Regions from separate parts of the Homo sapiens genome. Here region 2 is linked to region 1. The links are contacts of gene promoters, found by promoter capture Hi-C in human tissues and cell types (Jung and others, 2019). All regions are on one chromosome and are shown on one strand. Each heading gives the region's core, a stretch centred on a gene start or on the middle of the fragment in contact. The rest is flanking DNA. Distances are from core to core; before and after follow the strand shown. Region 1 holds the start of GPR42 (G protein-coupled receptor 42). Region 2 overlaps LINC01766 (long intergenic non-protein coding RNA 1766).

Region 1 (5,610 bases), core at 2,107-4,606:
TCTGCTGTCTTAAAGAGACCCATCTCACATATAATGATACCCAAACCCTCAAAGGGTTGGAGAAAGATCTCTCATGCAAATGGAAAACAAAGGGTTGCTATTGTTGTATGAGATAAAACAGACTTTAAACCAACAACAGTAAAAAAGCACAAATAAGGGCACTTCCTAATGATAAAGGGTTCGATTAAACAAGAAGATTTAACATCCTATATATATAAACACCCAACGCTGGAGTACCTAGATTTATAAAACAATTACTACGATACCTAAGAAAAGAGATGGACAGCCACACAATAATAGTGGGGTTCTTCAACAGCCCATTGACAGCATTAGACAGATCATTGAGGCAGAAAACTAACAAAGAAATTCTGGACTTAAATTGGACACATGATCAAATGGACCTAATAGACATCTACAGAATACTCTACCCAACAACCACAAAATATACGTTCTTCTCATCTGCACACAGAAGATACTCTAAGATTGACCCAATGCTTAGTCATGAAGCAAATCTCCATAAATTTAAAGAAATGAAAATTATACCAACCTTCTTCTCAGACCACAGTGGAATAAAAATAGAATTCTCAAAATCACACAAATACATGGAAACTAAACAACTATTTCCTGAATGACTTTGGGGTAAGTCATTAAGGAAGAAGTCAAAAAATTAAGGCAGAAGTCAAAAACTTCTTTGAAACAACTGAAAATAGAGGCACAACATACCAAAACCTCTGGGATACAGCAAAAGCAGTTTTAAGAGGAAATTTTATATCACTAAATGCCTACATCAAGAAGTTAGAAAGATCTCAAATTAATAACCTAACATTACACCTGAAGGAACTAGAAAAACAAGAGCAAACTAAATCCAAAGCTAGCAGAAGAAAAGAAATAACTAAAATCAGAGTAGAGCTAAACGAAATTGTGACAAATAAGCCATTCAAAGGATCAATGAAATGAAAAATTGGTTCTTTGAAAGAATAAACAAGATTTATAGGCTGCAAGCTAGATTAACAAAGGAAAAAAAAAAACCTCCAAAAAAGCACAATCAGAAATAACACAGACAAGATTACAACTAATTCCACAGAAATACAAAAGATCCTCAGAGACTGCGATGAACATCTATATTCACATGAATCAGAAAATCTAGAGGAAACAAATAAATTTCTGGAAACATACAACCAAGATTGAACCAGAAAGAAATTGAAACTCTGAGCAGACCAATAATGAGTTACAAAATTGAATCAGTAATAAAATATCTACCACCTTTAAAAAGCCCTTGACCAGATGGATTCACAGCCAAACTCTACCAGACCTGCAAAGAAGAGATGGTACCAATCCTACTGAAACTTTACCAGAAAATTGAGGAGGAGAGATTCCCTACTCATTCTACAAAAACAGTCTGATTCTGATATCGTAATCTGGCAGGACACAGTGAAAAAAGAAAACTGTAGGCCAATAGCCCGATGAACATAGATCCAAAAATCCTCAATAAAATACTAGCAAACCAAATCCAGCAGCATGACAAAATCATAATTCAGCATGATCAAGTGGGCTTTATTCCTGGGATGCAAAGATGTTTCAATATATGCAAATCAATAAATGTGACTCACCACATAAAATTAAAAACAAAAATTATATGATCATCTCAATAGATGCAGAAAAAAACATATAATAAAATCCAACATCCCTTCATGATAAAAACCCTCAAAAAACTAAACATCGAAGGAACACACCTCAAAATAATAAGAGCCATCCAGGACAAACTCACAGCCAACATCATACTGAATGGGCAAACGTTGGAAGCATTCCCCCTAAGAAATGGAAAAAGACAGGGATGCCTACTCCCACTACTCCTATTCAACATAGTAGTGGAAGTCCTAGCCAGAGCAATCAGGCAAGAAAAAGGAATAAAAGGCATCCAAATAGAAAGGGGAAGTCAAATTATCTCTGTTCACTGATGATATGATTCTATACCTAGAAAACCCTACAGATTCCTCCAAAATACTCCTAGACCTGATAAATGACTGGCAGTTTCAGGATGCAAAATCAGTGTATAAAAATCAGTAGCATTACTATATACCAACAATTGTCAAGCTGTGAGCCAAATAAAGAACAGAATCCCAATTACAATAGCCACACACAAAAATAAAATACCTAGGAATACATCTAACCAAGGAAGTGAAAGTGAAAGATCTCTACAAGGAGAACTAAAAAACACAAATAAATGAAAAACATTCCATGTTCATGGATTAGAAGAATCAATATCATTAAAATGTCCATACTGCTCAAAGCAATCTACAGATTCCACCCAATTCCTACCAAATTATCAATGTCATTTTTCATAAAATGGAATCATTCTACCAAAAAGACACCTGCATGTGTATGTTTGTCACAGCACTATTCACAATGGCAAAGTGATGGAATCAACTTAGGTGCCCATCAATGGTGGACTAGATAAAGAAAAAATGGTACATACACATCACGAAATACTATGCAGCTATAAAAAAGAATGAAATCATGTCCTTTGCTGCAACATAAATGCAGCTGGAGGCCTAAGTGAATGATCCTAAGTGAATTAACACAGAAACAGAAAATCAAATGCTGTATGTTCTCACTTTTAAGTGGGAGGTAAACAATGGGTACACGCAAACATTAAAGATGGAAACCATAGACAGTGGGGACTCCAAAGTGGGGGAGGGAGGGCGGAGGACAAGGGTGGGAAAACTGCCTATTGGGTACTATGTTCACAATTTTGGTAATGGGTTCAATAGAAGCCCAAACCTCAGTATTATGCAATATACCCATGTAACAAACCTGCACATGTGCTCCCGAATCTAAAATAAATATTTTCAAAAAGCAATTGACCTATATTATTAACATTTTAATCTACCTGTATATATGTTTTAATCTGCATGTGTTCATGCTTTGAAATATGGTACAGGTACTATGACAATCCCTGTTCTGTAGGGGAGGAAGAAGAGACACATCTCTTCCCCCACATCACAAAGTCAGGAAGGAACAGACCTCACGGAGTCCAGTCTGTCACTGGCTCATGCTTTGTGCCCTTAAAAGGCAAACTGGATAAGTGCCATTCTAGAGAATCAGACAAAATTCAAGTGGAAGAGAGGGGAGGGGAAGAAGACGTCAGCTGGGGCCTGTTTGGAGCATCCCAGCTGAGGCTGCGCAAGGAGGGAGGCACGCAGTTGTGGAATTTGTTCCCCTTTTTGCATACTGACCAGCCCTGGCAACGGAGCTCAAGGCATCTTTGTGCCACTGCTCAACAGTGAGTGATGTCATGGGCACGGCCAGGTCTTTATCAGTTCTGCCGGATAAATAGCCAACTGCACTAGGTCTGGAGAGACAGCAAGGTGCTGTGCGGCAGAGCATTTGGGGTCTCAAAGAAGCAGGTGAGCCTGGGCCCGAGGGGCTGGGTGGAGGAGCACCTTGGTGCTTCTCTGCTGGGGAAGGGACAGGGGACAGGGCATGCTCAGGAAGACAGGCAGGCTGACCCCGCCTGGAAGGCACCCAGAGACAAGAGGGGTGGGCGTAGTGACCTCGTGCCCTTTTAGGGGAGATGCTGCTGGCCAGAGGCCGTTAGGGCCCCCACTACCAACTCCATGTTACTCTCTCTCACCAGTGGCCACCACCATGGATACAGGCCCCGACCAGTCCTACTTCTCCGGCAATCACTGGTTCGTCTTCTCGGTGTACCTTCTCACTTTCCTGGTGGGGCTCCCCCTCAACCTGCTGGCCCTGGTGGTCTTCGTGGGCAAGCTGCGGTGCCGCCCGGTGGCCGTGGACGTGCTCCTGCTCAACCTGACCGCCTCGGACCTGCTCCTGCTGCTGTTCCTGCCTTTCCGCATGGTGGAGGCAGCCAATGGCATGCACTGGCCCCTGCCCTTCATCCTCTGCCCACTCTCTGGATTCATCTTCTTCACCACCATCTATCTCACCGCCCTCTTCCTGGCAGCTGTGAGCATTGAACGCTTCCTGAGTGTGGCCCACCCACTGTGGTACAAGACCCGGCCGAGGCTGGGGCAGGCAGGTCTGGTGAGTGTGGCCTGCTGGCTGTTGGCCTCTGCTCACTGCAGCGTGGTCTACGTCATAGAATTCTCAGGGGACATCTCCCACAGCCAGGGCACCAATGGGACCTGCTACCTGGAGTTCTGGAAGGACCAGCTAGCCATCCTCCTGCCCGTGCGGCTGGAGATGGCTGTGGTCCTCTTTGTGGTCCCGCTGATCATCACCAGCTACTGCTACAGCCGCCTGGTGTGGATCCTCGGCAGAGGGGGCAGCCACCGCCGGCAGAGGAGGGTGGCGGGGCTGGTGGCGGCCACGCTGCTCAACTTCCTTGTCTGCTTTGGGCCCTACAACGTGTCCCATGTCGTGGGCTATATCTGCGGTGAAAGCCCGGTGTGGAGGATCTACGTGACGCTTCTCAGCACCCTGAACTCCTGTGTCGACCCCTTTGTCTACTACTTCTCCTCCTCCGGGTTCCAAGCCGACTTTCATGAGCTGCTGAGGAGGTTGTGTGGGCTCTGGGGCCAGTGGCAGCAGGAGAGCAGCATGGAGCTGAAGGAGCAGAAGGGAGGGGAGGAGCAGAGAGCGGACCGACCAGCTGAAAGAAAGACCAGTGAACACTCACAGGGCTGTGGAACTGGTGGCCAGGTGGCCTGTGCTGAAAACTAGGTCCTCCGGGGGAGGAGGGTGTAGCTGGCGTGTCATCCTCAGGGCGCTTCCTCGCTCACGCCAGGAGGGACTTGGAGTGGCGAGCTGGGGCCCGATGGGGCTTGGGGGCAGAGTAGACATCTAGCCTCCCTAAGGGTATGCGCGCTAAAGCCCAGCTCTCGATCTCACCTCCATCCCCATCCACCCACACACTATGGATTGGGCTCTGGGAAGGGGTCAGGGTGAGAGGCTGCTCTGGAGAACAATGAGGTCCTCATAGCAGCAGGCAGCTCCTGTGTTTTCTTGAGGGTGGCAGAGGAGCTAAGAGCAGTGCCCAGGTCTGAGGGGGCTGCCCAGTGAGTGGCAGGGGCAGGAGAGGGGAGAACCCCATCCTCAGAGCTGCTCCCAGCCAGCGAGTCAGGAGCGGGGGAGACAGGGCTCCAGGGATGAGGCCGCATTCTGCTCCCACAGTGCCTTTTCCAGAAAGTTCCCATTGCTCAATAAATGTGGATCATCAGAGACATTTATGAACAATGACAGAAGAAAAATTACCCAAATAAATGTGGAAGCAAGCAAAAGAGAACAGTGTTTCCTTCTTCTCCTGTTTTGTTCTGGTGGTGTGCTTGGGCCGGGTGGGACTGGTGGATGGAAGGAGAAAACACCAGACTCTGGAGGAAAAGGGCCAAACACCAGGATGCCTGGATGCTGGGAGAGGATCTGGCTTGCAGGGATGAAAATAACAGCTGCCCTGTCTAAAGGACTTGGCCTGACACATCATCTCCTTCTATCTCTCAATAGCCCTGTGAGAGGTACCAGCATTATCCCCAGTTTCAGATGAAGGAGTGGCCCAGAGAGGTGACATCTCCTACCCGAGATCCCATAGCTGGTGGGCGATTGAAGTGGGACCAGAAGCTGGTGTCAGTTGACTCTGACACCCATGCC
Region 2 (5,610 bases), core at 2,327-4,826, 230 kb after region 1:
CCTGTCCATCCTGGGCCTCTTCTGTTGCCTTCCCCTAGCCATCCCAGCCGTGATCTTTTCTTGCCTGGTGGGCACCTGCATCATGCCAATCCTTCACCCTCCCTCTCCATCTTGCCCCTGACCCTGACTCAACTTCTTCCTTGTTCTCCCTTCTGAACTAGGAGCCTGAGCAACACCAGCACCTCCTGTGGGTTCAGACCCCCACCCTGAGTCCTTACAGTTCCACAGCCCACCCTCACCCAACAACTGTTTTTTTTTTTTTTGAAACAGAGTCTCGCTCTGTCACCCAAGCTGGAGTGCAGTGGTGAGATCTCAGCTCACCGCAACCTCCATCTCGCAGGTTCAAACAATTATCCTGCCTCAGCTTCCTGAGTAGCTGGGATTAGAGGCGCCCACCAACACGCCTGGCTAATTTTCGTATTTTTGGTGGAGCTGGGTTTCACCATGTTGGCCAGGCTGGTCTTGAACACCTGACCTCAGGTGATCTGCCCACCTCAGCTTCCCAAAGTGCTGGGATTACAGGCATGAGCCACCATGCCCGGCCACGCAATAACTCTTTTATACTCATCTTTCCCTGTTCCCTCTCTCCTAAAACTCAGACAAAGTTTGTATTGTAGACAAAGAACTACAATAAATCCAGTGACTATGAGCTGGCAGCCAAGACCTCCAAACAAGCCTACTACTGGGCCATCGCGAGCATCACTGTGGGAATCTTAGGTACCATCTTGTACACCTACCTGATATACTTACTTAGATTGTAAACTGCTTCCCAGCTCTTGAACAAACCACCAAATATACACCACAGTGCAATTTACCTTGGCTCTAAGCATCTACTTGGGCTGAATGGAACACCTGCTCCTCAATGTCTGGAGTGCCAAGCTATCTAAGATTAGAAAAACAAAATGCAAAGTGTTCTTCCTATTCTTACATGCCCCTCAAAGTAACACTTCTTTTTTTTTTTTTTTTTTTGACAGAGTCTTCCTCTGTCCAGGCTGGAGTGCAGTGCCACGATGTCGGCTCACTGCAACCTCTGCCCCCAAGGTTTAAGTGATTCTTCTGCCTCAGCCTCCTGAGTAGCTGGGATTACAGGTGCGTACCACCATGCCCAGCTAATTTTGTATTTTTAGTAGAGACGGGGTTTCACCGTGTTGGCCAGGCTGGTCTCAAACTCCTGACCTCAGGTGATCCACTCACCTTAGCTTCCCAAAGTGCTGGGATTACAGGTGTGAGCCACCATACCAGGCCTCAGCATAACACTTCTAACACCAAATGTTAGAGCCAGGGGCAGGGGTATTTTCCCCACCTACCAACCAACCAGATTCTCCAGCAGACACCAACTGGGTGTCCTGTAATTTAATTCAATTCTGACACTATCTACCTGGAGATGGCATCAGATCCCACAGGTTGAAGGCTCAGTTCCACAAGACTGCCCCCAAATTTGGATGTCAGCCACAAGTGGTAAGTTGTCACCTAGACTTGTGACTGACAAGCTATAAATCAGGTGTTCCCATGACCCCCCTCCTCAAGCCTGATTAATTTGTTCCAGCTGGCCAGGTGCAGTAGCTCAGGCCTGTAATCCCAGCACTTTGGGCGGCTGAGGCAGGAAGATCGCTTGAAGCCAGGAGTTTGAGACCAGCCTGGCCAACATGGCAAAACCCCGTCTCTACTAAAAATACAAAAATTAGACAGGTGTGATGGCATACGCCTATAATCCCAGCTACTCAGGAGGCTGAGGCAGGAGAATCGCTTGAACCCAGGAGGTGGAGGTTGCAGAGAGCTGAGATCATGCCACTGCACTCCAGCCTGGGCAACACAGCGAGACTCCGTCAAAAAAAAAAAAAACAAAACACTATTATCACTCCAGCGATTCCAAGGGTTTTAGGAGCTCTGGGCCACAAAATGGGACCTAGACCAAATATATATGTCACAGTATCACACAAGTGTTGCCAGCCTGGGTCAGCAGCTTGAAGGGAAGGAAGTGGTAGTGCCAGCAGCCCACTCGACCAGAACTCAAGACCAACTCCAGGACCCTGCTATGGCGTGGGGGACATGGGAGAGAGAGGAGGACCCCGTTGCTCGAGGACAGCCTGCCCAGATTCATGTATTCACATCGCAAGTCTAGTTCTGCCTACCAAGGGCGTTGGCTGTGCTACCTGACTCTGGAGACGTAGCAATGACTACTTCAAATTCAACTCAACCCCCTCAGAACATATAAATTGGGGTGAGAGACAGACATGCCACCAGACAGTGACAATCGGAGTGGTCCAATATATAATGGAAGAAAACTTGGGAAGGGTTACTAAAGAAACACTTGTTTAATGACACTCGTTACAGACAGTAAGGCGGGCCAGGCACAGTGGCTCATGCCTGTAATCTCAGCACTTTGGGAGGCCGAGGCGGGCGGATCACTTGAGCTTGGGAGTTCAAGACCAGCCTGGCCAACATGGTGAAACCTTGTCTCTACTAAAAATACAAAATTAGCCAGGCGTGGTGGTGTGCACCTGTAATCCCAGCTACTCAGGAGGCTGAGGCATGAGAATTGCTTGAACCTGGGAGGCAGAGGTTGCAGTGGTTCGAGATTGTGCCACTGCACTCCAACCTGTGGGACAGAGCAAAACTGACTCCATCTCAAAAAGAAAAAGACAGTAAGGCAGACTTTATTCAGGACCATTGCAATATGCAGAGGGAATACTGAGACAGGGGCCTGCACTGGAGGAGAAAGATGGGGCTCAACACTAAATACAGCATGAGCAAGTGGGAAGTCCTACCCAAGGAGCAGGGTAGGGGTCAGTGGATGGAAAATTAGTAAGAGAAAACATTGAGGGTAAGGGGGATTCTGACTAAACCAACCTAATAGGATTCTAGTTGAAGACAGGCCAGGGTGACCAGACATCACCAGGGGGATGGTGGAGGATGAGGAACCTGATCAGATGCCGAGGTGTATCAGATACAGAGGATGAGGGTTTCTAGCTAAACTGACGTAGAAGGGTTCTTTTGCTACAACTGGATTTTACAAAGAAGTGCACAGAAGGAGAAGGTTCAGATGCTTTTTTTTTTTTTTTTGAGATGGAGTCTCACTCTGTCACCCAGGCTGGAATGCAGTGGTGCAATCTTGGCTCACTACAGCTTCCGCCTCCCGTATTCAAGCCATTTTCCTGCCTCAGCCTCCTGAGTAGCTAGGATTACAGGTGCTCACCACCTCAACCAGCTAATTTTTTATAGTTTTAATAGAGATGGGGTTTCACCATGTTGGTGAGGCTGGTCTTGAACTCCTGACTTCGTGATATGCCCGCCTCGGCCTCTCAAAGTGCTGGAATTATAGGCGTGAGCCACCGTGCCCAGCCTTTCTTTTTTTTTTTTTTTTTTTTTTCTTTTCTTTTCTTTTTTTTTTTTTTTTGAGACGGGGTCTCGCTCTCTCACTCAGGCTGGAGTACAGTGGCATGATCTCGGCTCACTGCAACCTCTGCCTCCCAGGTTCAAGTGATTCTCCTGCCTCCACCTCCTGAGTAGCTGGGATTACATGCGCCTGCCGCCACGCCTGGCTAATTTTTTTATTTTTAGTAGAGATGGGATTTCATCATGTTGGCCAGGCTGGTCTTAAAACTCCTGACCCCAGGTGATCCACCTGCCTTGGCCTCCCAAAGTGTAGGAATTACAGGCGTGAGCCACCGCGCCTGGCCGCCCGGCTAATTTTTATATTTTTAGTAGAGCTGGGGTTCTCCATGTTGGCCAGGCTGGTCTCAAACTCCTGAGATCAGGTGATCCACCTGCCTCAGCCTCCCAAAGTCCTGGGATTACAGGCATGAGCCACTGGGCCCGGCCCAGGTTCAGAAGCCTGACTAAAGTTTGGCCAAGCAAAGAATCCTTGTCAGGAGGCTGTAAATAAGAGACCTGTGAGAAATAAAAATTGTCAGGTGTCTGAGCCCAAGCCTGCATGTATACATCCAGATGGCCTGAGGCAACTGAAGAACCACAAAAACAAGTGAAAATGGCCAGCTCCTGCCTTAACTGATGACATTACCTTGTGACATTCCTTCTCCTGGACAATAAGTCTCCGGAGCTCCCCACCGAGCACCTTGTGACCCCCGCCCCTGCCTGCAAGAGAACAACCCCCTTTAACTGTAATTTTCCACTACCTACCCAAATCCTATAAAACTGCCTCACTCCTATCTCCCTTTGCTGACTCCTTTTTCGGACTCAGTCCGCCTGCACCCAGGTGATTAAAAAGCTTTTACTGCTCACACAAAGCCTGTTTGATGGTCTCTTCACACGGACGCACGTGACAAAAATAAAATCCTAAGTCCGCCAACTGGCTGAATGAACACTGTCTTGGCCAAGGGGCCTACAGAGAAACACTAAAAGCTGAGTTCCTAGCCGTGACTGAACGGGTGGTCGGGCACACCTCATTCTACCTCCTCCCTTGCTGACTGCCATGAAGCTTTCTTCCCTAAGGGTTAAACAGAAACCAGCCCTATTGAAAGACTCATTCACTGCTAATTTCAACCAATGGCCTGAAATACATGGCTGCTCCTCCCTTTTGTGGTTTCAACATAACAACTGACCAGCATTCCTTCCTGATCAGAGGCCACCTAACCACGGGGTGTGGCTCTGGCCAGTCTACAGAGGCTGCACACAAAGGGCCTTTGTGTCCTCTGCATCACCTTTTGATGTATAGGGCCTAATTGTAATACATTTAAGTGTTAAGTCTCCACTCCAAAGTGAACATGGGGCCTGGCACGGTGGCTCACGCCTGTAATCCCAGCACTTTGGGAGGCCAAGGTGGGCGGATCACCTGAGGTCAGGAGTTTGAGACCAGCCTGGCCAACATGGTGAAACCCTGTCTCTACTAAAAATAAAAAAATTAGCCAGGCATGGTGATGGGTGCCTGTAATCCCAGCTACTCATGAGGCTGAGGCAGGAGAATTGCTTGAACCCTGGGAAAGAGAGGTTGCAGTGAGCTGAGATCGCACCACTACACTACAGCCTGGGTGACAGAGTAAGACTCCATCTCAAAAAAAAAAAAAAAAAAAAAAAAAAGTGAATATGGGATGTTACTACACATGTGCTGTACCTTCCCTTCATGAATATTCATAGCTCCTCCTATAACCTGTTGAATATGTATACTGAGCCAAGCCATTCAGCGTTAACTCTGACCTTATCCTTCCCTTACTGGAGGTGCCTGCTCTCAGCTTCTACCGGAGGCTACACTTCTCGGCCTGTGAGATGGCCCGGCTGCAGGCTGCAACTCTTTATGAGAAATAAAGCTCTCCTTTCCAAATTTGTAAACCTGTATTAGTCTGTTCTCACGCTGCTGAAAAGAACTGCCCAAGACTGGGTAATTTATAAAGGAAAGAGGTTTAATTGACTCACAGTTCCGCAGGGTTGGGGAGGCCTCAGGGAACTTAAAATCATGGTGGAAAAGAAAGCAAAAACGTCCTTCCTCAGATGGCAGCAGGAAGGAGAAGTGCCAAGCAAAGAGGGAAAAGCCCCTTATAAAACCATCAGATCTCGTGAGAACTCACTATCTCAAGAACAGCAGCATGGGGGTAACCACCCCCATGATTCGATTACCTCCCACTAGGTCCCTCCCACAACACATGGGGATTTGGG

Evidence for each region. Contacts are between HindIII fragments. The study calls those that stand out against the background at their distance.
Region 2: a contact is called between a fragment that was not itself captured here and the fragment with the promoter of GPR42 in region 1, in 2 of the 25 tissues and cell types used here (lymphoblastoid cells and spleen).

Annotation. Positions count from the first base shown.
Region 1 is chr19:35,367,712-35,373,321 of GRCh38, forward strand. It overlaps GPR42 (G protein-coupled receptor 42), which reads left to right and starts at 3,357. Exons shown (of 2, transcript NM_001348195.2): 1 at 3,357-3,407; 2 at 3,638-5,251. The coding sequence starts at 3,649. The coding sequence ends at 4,689. The HindIII fragment of the contact is 14,423 bases long and covers 1-5,610 here.
Region 2 is chr19:35,600,688-35,606,297 of GRCh38, forward strand. It overlaps LINC01766 (long intergenic non-protein coding RNA 1766), which reads left to right. Exons shown (of 3, transcript NR_110750.1): 2 at 1-67; 3 at 618-814. Among named protein-coding and RNA genes, the nearest start is that of LINC01766, 5.6 kb to the left of the region's middle. The HindIII fragment of the contact is 5,357 bases long and covers 899-5,610 here.